Linked DNA regions of Homo sapiens: all the other regions are linked to region 1. The links are contacts of gene promoters, found by promoter capture Hi-C in blood cells and fetal thymus (Javierre and others, 2016). All regions are on one chromosome and are shown on one strand. Each heading gives the region's core, a stretch centred on a gene start or on the middle of the fragment in contact. The rest is flanking DNA. Distances are from core to core; before and after follow the strand shown.

The links. Contacts are between HindIII fragments. The CHiCAGO score rates a contact against its expected background, and 5 or more counts as called.
Region 2: a contact is called between a fragment that was not itself captured here and the fragment with the promoter of SF3B5 in region 1, in 3 of 17 cell types (erythroblasts, M0 macrophages and M2 macrophages). The highest score is 9.6, in erythroblasts.
Region 3: a fragment that was not itself captured here is called in contact with the fragment with the promoter of SF3B5 in region 1 in 7 of 17 cell types (erythroblasts, M0 macrophages, M1 macrophages and 4 more); the score reaches 6.7 in erythroblasts.
Region 4: a contact is called between a fragment that was not itself captured here and the fragment with the promoter of SF3B5 in region 1, in 4 of 17 cell types (M0 macrophages, activated CD4 T cells, erythroblasts and 1 more). The highest score is 5.8, in M0 macrophages.

Annotation. Positions count from the first base shown.
Region 1 is chr6:144,094,311-144,097,010 of GRCh38, forward strand. It overlaps SF3B5 (splicing factor 3b subunit 5), which reads right to left and starts at 1,263. Exons shown (of 1, transcript NM_031287.3): 1 at 574-1,263. The coding sequence starts at 1,187. The coding sequence ends at 927. RefSeq lists an enhancer at 1,013-1,712. The HindIII fragment of the contact is 24,688 bases long and covers 1-2,700 here.
Region 2 is chr6:143,554,266-143,556,965 of GRCh38, forward strand. It overlaps PHACTR2-AS1 (PHACTR2 antisense RNA 1), which reads right to left. Exons shown (of 3, transcript NR_027113.2): 3 at 1-965. It also overlaps a transcript of PHACTR2 not described here. Among named protein-coding and RNA genes, the nearest start is that of PHACTR2-AS1, 14 kb to the right of the region's middle. The HindIII fragment of the contact is 1,933 bases long and covers 458-2,390 here.
Region 3 is chr6:143,571,101-143,573,889 of GRCh38, forward strand. It overlaps a transcript of PHACTR2 not described here. Among named protein-coding and RNA genes, the nearest start is that of PHACTR2-AS1, 3.2 kb to the left of the region's middle. The HindIII fragment of the contact is 7,387 bases long and covers 1-2,789 here.
Region 4 is chr6:143,521,083-143,523,782 of GRCh38, forward strand. It overlaps LOC105378035 (a long non-coding RNA gene), which reads left to right. Exons shown (of 4, transcript XR_007059796.1): 3 at 1-2,700. Among named protein-coding and RNA genes, the nearest start is that of FUCA2, 11 kb to the left of the region's middle. The HindIII fragment of the contact is 5,877 bases long and covers 1-2,700 here.

The DNA of each region.
Region 1 (2,700 bases), core at 13-2,512:
TTGTGCATCATATTTAAGATTACAGCCCTACCAGCTACTCCCACCCGCACCACATACATTGTTCTCCCCTCCCCGCAGCATCTTCTAACATTTGCTTATTACATCTAGTGTTTGACCTCCTTTCTCCACCACCAGCATAATGTAAGCCCCAAGAACACGGGAAAATGCCTGTCACATAGAGCTCAACAAATATTTGTTGAATGTAGAATGGATGAACTCGCTTGCCAGCTTGTCATTTCTGGAGACATGGCCACAAATTCCCAAGAAAAAAAAAAGGATGCATTTTAAAGAGGCTAGGGAGGACAATGACAGCAAAGACTGCAAAGAGTTTTAAAACAGGAGAAAAAGAAGATGGGATACAATAACCACAAATTTCAATACTGAAGGCATTGTGGGCCTGAAAATAACGCTCTTGGGAAAAGTGGCAGTCGGGGAATTAATTATAAAGGTAGACACGGCGGATCTAAGTGCCTGGCCATGGACACTGGCATGCGCTCCCTCACCCAAACCCACTTCCCGCTCAGCTCTTTCCGGAGCCTTCCACCCTAACACAGAAAGTTCACACCAAGAGACTGAACGATTTCTAAACTTTATGGAAAAAGCCAATGACAATCAATTAGCCAAAAACGAGACGCCAAATCCCATCTCACTCCAGCGCCATGCCCTCTTCTCAAACGCTCGCCGGCTCTAGGACCTCTCCACCAGCACAGTTCTCAGGAGTCCTGCTGGTCTCCCAGTGCTGTTCTAAGGGTCCACATGAAGGCAGGTCAGGCGGGACTCCCCGGGCAAGCACTTCTGTACGCGGAAAGCACGAGGCGCAGGAGCCATGGAGAGCCGGTCCTTTGGAGACAGGAATACTTAAGAGGATTGGCAAACCGGAGAAACGCTGGGAGAGGTGCCCCGCACTGCGGTGGTAAGGCAGAGTCTCAGTTCTCCTCGGGCTTGTCGGCTGGCGGTCCACAAGGCTGAAGCATCTTTTCCATCAAGTTGAAGCGGACTCGCGCTTTGCTCTCATTCTCCGCAATGGCGAAGTAGTTGAGAAGGTCGAAGTGGCCCATGTAGGAGCAGTACGAGTCGCGGTGTTGGTTCACCAGCCACTCCCACTTGGTGGTGTCGGCGTGGCCCGTGCCGATGTACTTGGACTGCAGGTGCTCCAGCTGGCTATGGATGGTGTAGCGGTCAGTCATCTCGCCGCTTTCCCCTTCGCTCTCAGGTCAGAGGACGCAGGTAACAACTCGCCGCTCTAGCGTTTTACAGGAGAGTGAAGCCACCGCGCGGAAGCTCCAGGTCCGCGCCGTCGCAGAAGAATGGCGTCACAACGACTAAGTAGCGTAACTCTCGCTCATAGGGCTCAGAGGCGGAAGCGGAAGCACATTCTGTCACGCAATTGGAGTTGCTGAGGCGACGCAACAAGTGTGCCTCCCCCCTCCATGGAGATCCCCGCCCCATCAGAGAATGTTGCATGATGGTCCACTTAGTGGCTAAGGGAGGCCCTTTTCCAACAAGGAGCGTTGCATGCTGGGACTTGTGGTCTTGGGAGTTCGTGCACGCAGGCTTCCGGGACTCCTGGTCGCGTTCTGTTGTTTGTTTGTTTGTTTGTTTAAGACGGAGTCTTGCACTGTTGCCCGGGCTGCAATGCAATGGCGCGATCTCGGCTCACTGCAACCTCCGCCTCCTGGGTTCACGCGATTCTCCTGCTTCAGCCTCCCGAGTAGCTGGGATGACAGTTGCACACCACCACGCCCGGCTAGTTTTTTTGTATTTTTAGTAAAGACGGGGTTTCACTGGTCTCGAACCCCTGACCTCGTGATCCGCCCGCCTCGGACTCCCAAAGTGCTGGGATTACAGGCGTGAGCCACCGCGCCCGGCCCCTGGTCGCGTTTTAAAAGTGATCTGGGGACCTAGTGGAGGGCGATGTCTGGAGGTGGGGAGCATCCGTGGGTGGCTTGGGGCTGATAGGAAATGGGAAACCCAAGAATGACTGGACTACGAGCAGCCCCGAAAATAAACTCTTGGTGTATTTCGGAGCCGTCGTGGCGGCACGGCCGTCCCTTCACAACCGGGGATGGATTACCCAGAAGTCAGCAGGCGCCAGTTCTGGTCCCAACTATGTCTCTTAGGAGTTTGTGGCATAAAAGAGTTATTTCAGCTCTAACCAGGGTGCTTGGTGAGCAAGTACAGCACCAGTTCCCACACATTCCGGCTTCCACCTCAAGCTCCTCCTTCCTCTCTAGCCACTTATTTTGATATCCTCCCTCCAAGGCCTCACCTCACCCTACTTGGCTCTTCCATTCAGTGGGTTTTGTGGATTCAACCAACCTGATTGAAAATATTGGGGGAAAATATCAGTCTGTACCGAAATGCAGACTTTTTAAGGTTATTATTCCCTAAACAATACAGTATAACAACTATTTACATAGCATTTACATTGTATTAGGTATGTTAAATAATCTAGAGACAAACTATACAGGAGGATGTGCGTATATGCAAATACAAGCCGTTTTATATCAGGGACTTGAGCATCCTCTAGTTTTGGTATCCATGGGGGTCCTGGAACAAATCACTCACGAATACTGAGGGACAACTGTATTTCTCCATGTTACCTGTTGTGTCCATCCCCATTTCCTTGTACAAGCTATTCCCTCTACGTGGAATGTCTGTTCCCTTGGTGAACGCATCTCCCTTTAAAGGCAGCTCAAA
Region 2 (2,700 bases), core at 174-2,673, 540 kb before region 1:
GACATTTAAAAATGTCTTTACCTCCAACAATTTGCTGTTAAAAAATTATTCGATGACACTTGTTCAAGCACGGTAAGGCAGGTTTTATTTAGGACCATTGCAATAGGTATAGGGACCACTGCTATCGATTTTGTAGTCGGGGAGTGGGATTGGGCTCAACTCTGAATGTAACAGGGAAAATAACTTATAGCCAAGGAGCAGTGTATCTTGCTCCTTGGCTATAAATTACAAGTGGGTGTCAGTGGATGGAAAATTACTAAAAGGAAACGTCAGCGTTAGAGCAGTCTTGCTGAAGACAGGACAGGATGATCAGCCCTCACCTGAGGAAAGGTGAAGGGCTAAGGAACTCGATTGAGGGTGGGAGTTCTCGGTAAACCAATTTAGCAGGGCTTTTGTTAAAACTGTATTTTACGAGGAAGTGCCCAGATGGGCCTAGAAGATCCAGGAGCCTGACTAAAGCTTGGTCACTCAAATAATCTTTGTCACTGCCAGTCTAAGAGGTCAAAAGTGTAATTTTGTCTTTCCCTGATTACTATTGAACCTAGGAAATATTTTATATTATTAGCCATTTGCATTTTCTTTCTCTGTGGTCTTCCCAGTACATATCCTTTGCCCTTTGTTCCTGTTGCATTATTTTCTTAACTCTTGGTGTGTTGAGTTGATAAATAATCCTTTGTGGTATATACATTGGAAGTATTTTTCTGCTATTTGGTTTTCTTTCATTTTGTTCTTAGGACGTTTTGTTACTCAGGAACAAATCCAGTTTTGATGTGTGAAGGTGTGTGTTTCCATACACATACGGAGGATTTACAAATATGCTGTAGATGTCTGTATTTGCTTTGAAATGCCCTTCAATAAAAACCATCCCAGCTTCTGTGATTCTTATCTTCCCTTTTTAGTGTGGGAGGCTTCCTGCTTTGCTTTGTCTGCACATTTACGTCGAGCCTGCCGAGCTTAATTTTAACCTGGGGAAAAATACAGAAGAGAAGCTATTTTCAGTCAGGTCATATTACTGAGAACACCTGTGAAATTCAGGATATTTTCTTGGGGGTAAGTTAAAATGTAGGACGCCACCTTGCCTGAAGCACATTTCTATTGTGGTTGCTGTACAAATTGGGAGGTGTTACTTGGAGCCAAAAACCTTATCACTTTCACACCAGCACTGCTTCTAAGTTGCATGCCTCCAACCCTCAATCCTTGGTATTAATTCTGAAACAACTAGTATAACCATCTGTTGAAAAGTTCTGTGGGAAAAAAAGGGGTCTTTGTGGCCTGTGTTATTCACTTCCCTGATGATCAACACAGAAATATTTTACATTTTGGTTATCAGTCTATTTTTTCCTGCTTTTCCTCTTGCTCCAGTTTGCCTTCCTAAATGTCTGGCCATAGGCAAATAAAATATACCCCCACCCTAGATGATTATGGTGTCAAAATTCCCTTAATCACACAGTAGCCCCAGCCAGCTGTTTGAGTAATATTTTTCCTACCTCATCGTGTGAATTGTCTTATTGTTTTGGTGAAATGTTGACGCTACCACCTACTCTCATCCTCCCACCTCCATTTGCAGATAAAATCTAATTATCACCTCAGGATGGTTTCTTGACATACAATATAATCACCACCGACACAAAAGAATTTAGGGCACTATGACATTTAGCTTTTTTTTTTTTTTTAAAGACTGTTGTTCAAAAAAATGATCCTTTTAAATTTGCTATTTCACAATTAATTTTTTTAAAAAGAAACAGAAAAAAAACAAAAAGAAAAGAGACCAAACCTTTTACTCTTAGTAATTAATCTATTTGTAGTGTTACATTGAAGGTAGTAGCAGAAGGGACAGTGAAAACTCATGATGGTTAAGAAATTAACAAAGGAGCATGCTTTTAGGACTTCAGGCAGGGATCATTACTAAAGTCCCTAGCTTTGATTAGAATTTTGTGATACCAGCTACTGTATAATTCGGCCCCAGTTCATTTCAGACTTTCTTCCTTAAATTCATTTATTTATTTCAGGACATTAAGGTATGGACTTTAGGTGTGGGGCATCTCCAATGCTCCTGCGTGCCAGGCACAAGGCGTGGGCCAGGAGAGTGAATATCTGGTGGAGGGAGGTGAGGAATACAGGAAGTAGTGCATTTTACTAAATGGAGAAAACATTGAAGGCAGCCAGCTTGATAGAATCATCAAAAATAAAAATTGAGGCATATAACAAAACCAGAAAGTACATTCATAACTCCGTATGTCAAACTAGAGAGAGGAAAGTGAAAAAGATGAGAAAAAATATTTTGAGAAAAGTTGACTAGCTCCTCTGCAGTGACAGCATTCAAAAAATCAATCTAAACGCAGCCCTAGAGCAGCAATTCAGCTTCCCAGCTTGGAGGACTCTAGGTTTGAAGCTTTCAGCTGCTATCAGATTTGAACCTCTCAGCTCACAGGGTGCTAACTAGAGGAGAAGGAAGACGTACATCACCACAGGACCACAGCGACGCATCACCATGGAATTTTCAGACTCAACGCACTGGCCACACCATGGGGTCCAATTGCTGCCATTTAGAAAAGCATGCTTTTAAAGTGTGTCATTTAAGAGTAAGTATTCTTTTTTAAAAATATGGGCCAGGAACTAATAAAAATGATGCACAAAGACGTGAGAAGATATGCTGCCTGTCTGTCCTCCTCCCTCAGAGAGACCACATTTCCTTTTGAA
Region 3 (2,789 bases), core at 93-2,592, 520 kb before region 1:
TAGTACAACGATGGAAATCAAGAAGGGAATGTAGGTAAAGAGCAGTACAGTACAGTACTTCTAACTAATCTGCAGCTGTCATTCAAATTTAGCCAATTATCCCACTAACAATTATCATTGTTAGTAACAATTATCATTGCGGTGTTTGTCAGATGGTGACTTTCTAGTTATCATCCTTCTGCATTTATCAATTGGAATTCTACTACAATGAAGAGCTACCTCTTCTGAGCTATTTATTCATTCAGTTATTTATTTGTATTAGTGTGGTCTCATGGATATTTCCTTTATCCTATAATCCATTACTATCTACTTTATTTCTTTTTTTAGAGACCCTCCAGCTCTGTCACCCAGGCTGGTGCAGTGGTGCAATCATAGCTCACTGTGGCCTCAAAGTCTTGACTGAGCTCAAACAATCCTCCCACCTCAGCCTCCTGAGCAGCTGGGACTACAGGTGTGCACTGCCACACCTGGTTAATTTTTTTTAAAATTTTTTTATAGAGATGAGGTCTTGCTATGTTTCCCAGGCCGGTCAATCATCACTCATTTTGTTGCCCACATTGTTGTACAATTGGCTATCGAGAGTTTGGTACAAGTTTACTCCTGTGTCCATTTGCCATGCTCCCATCATTAAAAAAATCATTTCCTTACTTTCTGGGACCACAAGACGTTCCAGACTCATCTTGTGTTTTCTCTGTCCCTGCTTTAGAATCAGTCTTTTCTCCTATGAGCCCTGCTTTCAGTATTATTTTAATGTTAGATTTATAACGTTCTGTTCATGTTCTTGGAAAATTAATATTTACCATATGGGAGATCTCTATGTAGGAGATATTAGATATTCTTCTACCATCTACAGAACTGATTTCTTATGAAACACTGGTCCCAAAAACATGTCAGATTATGAGGAGCATAGCCTATTTTGATACATATGCTAAAAAATGGGAAGCCACACAACTAGGATTTTCACCAAAAAATCTGTTTTACTCTTTCTTGCTTCTATATTTCTTTTTAGTAGGTAACTACAGGTCCAATATCTTTTAGACTTTTTGTTGTTGTAGACTTTGTTTTTTGCTAAGAAATTCTTTTGGCCCCGTGTAAATATCTTCTGCAGTTTAGCTCCTCACTGGCTTGAATTCTCCCCTCATCATATTTTGTCCTGACACCTTCCCTCTTTGCTGAATTTTTGATAACAGCATCTCTGTTTCTCTGGATCTCATGACAATTTTCCAGTCAATCTGATCAATATATACAGCCTCAACACTGAAGTGAACCTGAAAGTTTCTTGACCAAAACTAGAGTCTAATGCCTCCATCAAATATATCCCAACTATATATTTTTTCAAAATAGAATGTGTGTGAGTGTTTGTGACTATGTGTTTATTATAGATTGATTCATACTCAAACACTAACAGTGGTTTTTTTGTTTGTTTGTTTTTTTGTTTTGTTTTGGTCATTGTGGTTGTTGTTGTTTTTGAAATGGAGAATCTCTCCATTGCCCCAGGTTGGAGTGCAGTGGCACGATCTAGGCTCATTGCAACCTCCACCTCCCGGGCTCAAGCAATCCTCATGCCTCAGCCTCCTAAGTAGCTGGGATTACAGGCACATGCCACCACACCCAGCTAATTTTTGTATTTTTGGTAGAGACACGGTTTCACCATGTTGGCCAGGCTGGTCTCAAACTCCTGACCTCAAGCAATCCACCTGCCTCTGCCTCCCAAAGTGCTGGGATTACAGGCATGAGCCACCGTGCCCAGCCAACAGTGGTTTATTTTCTTTTGAAATTCACAAATCTTACTGCTATGAATCTATTATCATCAAATTCTAAAAGCATAATGTCTTTTATCTGTGGAAGTTTGGTCATCATCAGATAAGAATCCAAAATAAAAAATGAAATGTTTTTTACTTTCTAATTTGAAATAATTCTGTCCTTACAAAACTGGCAAGACTAGTACCTAATGTTCTCATAGACCCTTCACTGGGTATATGTATAATTTTCTTATATATTGCATTTCATTGTATATTACATTCGTGATCTTCCTACTCAGAACTAGTAGGGTCATGTGGTAAACATCTGTTGAAAATGCCTTAGTGTTATATTCCTGTGGGGAAACCACCTCTAACCCACATTATCAACCATGTGATTTAGAGAGATTGACCCATTCTTTGTTCCTGGGCTTTACTTGGCTTTGGCCAGTCATCAATGGCTGCGTGCTTGGTTTAAGGGTGTGTCCTTGATCCAATTCAGGCCATCGAGATGCATGGAGACTTTCACTAGGTCTTATGGAAGTTTCTTCTCTATTCCATGGAGGTCCCTGGATGCTACATTATTATGTTTGTCATCCATGGGAGCCAGCCCAACTGTGAAGGTTAAGAGAGAAGAGCCTAGAGAATTTCTGAGCTTTGAGAATGGATGCAATTAAGCCTGAGGCCAGCCCTACCTCCAAACCAGTTTTGTGAACCCATGAATTTTCTTTCCCTCCTTTTTTTTTTTTTCTAAGTATTTTTGATTTTGGTTTTCTGTAGCTTGGAAAAGTTTCTGTTGATAACAGATCTTTTTCTGTGCATTCTATCATGTTATTTGTCCCTGTGTTGGCACTTATCTTAGTTAATTATGTGGCTGTTTTTCTTCAACTAAATTATGATGTCCTTGAAACTGTGGACTAAATCACTTACCTGCCTTTCTTATATTTGTATGGAGCTTAGTCCTTCCATTTAGCAGCACTCTGAGGGCCTAATTTCCACTAGGCCCAGAACTGGGTCTGGTTCTCCATAACTGTTTATGGAATCGTGAAT
Region 4 (2,700 bases), core at 44-2,543, 570 kb before region 1:
CATTTTATTGAATTTATTCATTCATTCATTTTGAACACCTAACATATACTAACAAATGTGCCAAGTCCAGAAGATTCAAGGCTGAATCAGAGGACATCCTTGACTTTAAAAAGCTGACAGACTAGAAGAGCCAAGCCTACATGAAAATAAATAAATGCAATACGGACCAAAAGCACAATTATCGAAATATGTGCAGGGTAGAGGTGCTGAGCAGTGGGAAGATACAGAATAACTAATGCCTGTTAGCTGCTTCTGTATGTATGCCAGGTAGTGTTCTAAGTGCTTTACTTACATATATTAGCTCATCGCCAACCTGTGATCGTTTCCATTATCATATTGTTACACTCATTTTATAGATGAGGGACTGAGACAAAGAGTGGTTGCCTAGCTTGCCCAAAGTCACTCAGCTATACTGAGTGGCAGAACCAGGATTTAAATAATATGAACTCTGTGCTCTCAACCTCTACACATTTGCTGTCCAGACTGTCCAGCAGACTGTCTAGGAAGAAATGCAAAGCACTTTAAGCAGAGAGGGCAGCTTGGGCAAGGGCACTAGTGCAGGAAAGACACAAGCACCTTGTGGAGTCAAGCAGATAGGATACCAGAAGGCTGAGGAATATGCCACATCATAGGGAGGCTTGGATCAGTTTTGGTAGACAATGAGAGGACATTGAAGGATTTTAGTCAGAGGAGTGATGGGGCAGATCTGTTTCTTAAAAAGATTATTTTGACTGTGTTAGGGAGGATGTGCTGCAGAGGATCTGGATGCAGGTGGGGAAGGGAGGATGTGTTGCAGGAGGATGTGTTGCAGAGGGAGGATGTGCTGCAGAGGGTCTGGATGCAGGTGGGGGAACCCCCTTTAGAGACGACTTCTCCCAGGTAAGAAAAGGCTGTAGCAGTGGAGTTGGAGAGAGAAGAATGGACCAGAGCTATTTTAAGGAAGACTAGGCCAGTGCTGGTTTTGATTAGTGGATGTCAAACTTAGTGGTCGTTTGGTATTTTTACACGAAACCTTCAACAGAATCAACAGTGTGCTTCATGAAGGCAGAGCCCAGATTTGTTTTTCTCGCCGTTGTACTCCCAAGACTTGGTAATGTGCTCAGGAAATGCTTATTGATTGAATGAGTTAATGAATAAGTGAATAAACCAAGAAGTAAATAAAAAAAAGAATGAATCAAAGAAATGACTCAGTATTGGATTAGACCAAGTGCATAAGAGAAGAAGTTAATGGACTCTCAAATGACTTGCCGAAAAGATTAAGTCAATTTCTCTTTTCTTATGCAATACATTTTGTGTCCAGGCCTTTCTTATGAGTATTGTGTGTGGAACATAAAGCAACCAACTTAGCTCCACGATTTAGCTATTGGGAGACCCATGAAAGAGCCTACCCAGCCCTGCCTGCCTCTGGGGGTCTCGGTCATGTCATGTGACTACATCGCTTGGCTCTGTTTCCAAGTTCCCCACCTCTAACCTCTCTGGAGCTCACATTCATCTTTCAAAAACATCACTTCTGTTATATCACCCATCACTCACTCCCTTCACTACACATCTCTTTGCCCTGCTTTAGTTTTCATCTGAGCACTTACTGTTTCCTGACATTATGTCATTCATTCATTCATTCATTTATTCATTTTATTTGGTTCTATCTCTCTGTTAGTTTCCTATTGCTGCAGTAGCAAATTACCATAAACTTAGTGGCTGAAAACAGATTTATCTTGCAGTTCTTGAGGACAGAAATCTGAAATGGGCCTCACTGAGATAAAGTCACTGTGGCCAGGGCTGCATTATTTCTGGAAGCTCCAGGGGACAATCTGTTTCCTTACCTCTTTCAGCTTCTAGAGGCTGCCCTCATTTCTTATTTTGTGGACCCCTTTGATCTTTAAAGCCAGCAAAGGCAGCTTGAGTCTTTCTCATGATGCTGTCTCTCTGGTCTCACTCTTCTGCCTTCCGCTTCCCCATTCAAGGACTCTTGTGATTATATTGGGCTTGCCTAGATAAAGCAGGATAATCTTATTTTAAGGTCAGCTGATTAGCAACTTTAATTCTAGCTGCAATTTTAATTCCCCCTTGCCATGTAACAACATATTTATAGATTACAAGGATTAGGATGTGGATGTATTTTTTTTTTTTTTTTTTGAGACGGTGTCTTGCTCTGTCACCCAGGCTGGAGTGCAGTGGCACAATCTCGGCTCACTGAAACCTCCACCTCCCGAGTTCAAGCAATTCTCCTGCCTCAGTCTCCCAAGTAGCTGGGATTACAGGCATGCGCCACCAAACCCAGCTAATTTTTGTATTTTTAGTAGAGACAGGGTTTCACCATGTTGGCAGGCTGATCTTGAACTCCTGACCTTGTGATCCACCCGCCTCGGCCTCCCAAAGTGCTGGGATTACAGGCATGAGCCACCGCACCTGGCCCAGGATATGGATGTCTTTGAGGGGCCATTTCCTGCTTAGCACAATCTGCCTCTTATAGAATTTAAGTCTCTTGAGAGCAAAACTTTATCTACTTTGCTCTCTACAGTACAGCCATTGATTAGAAGAGGGCCAGTATATTGTAAGCATGCAGTAAATATGTTTTGAATAAATCAGCAAATCTTGTCCTTCTTTTTCACAATCCATCTCATACCAAGGCAGAATAATTTTCCTTCATATCAGCATGGATCATAATATACTCTTTGATATGGTTTGGCTGTATTCCCA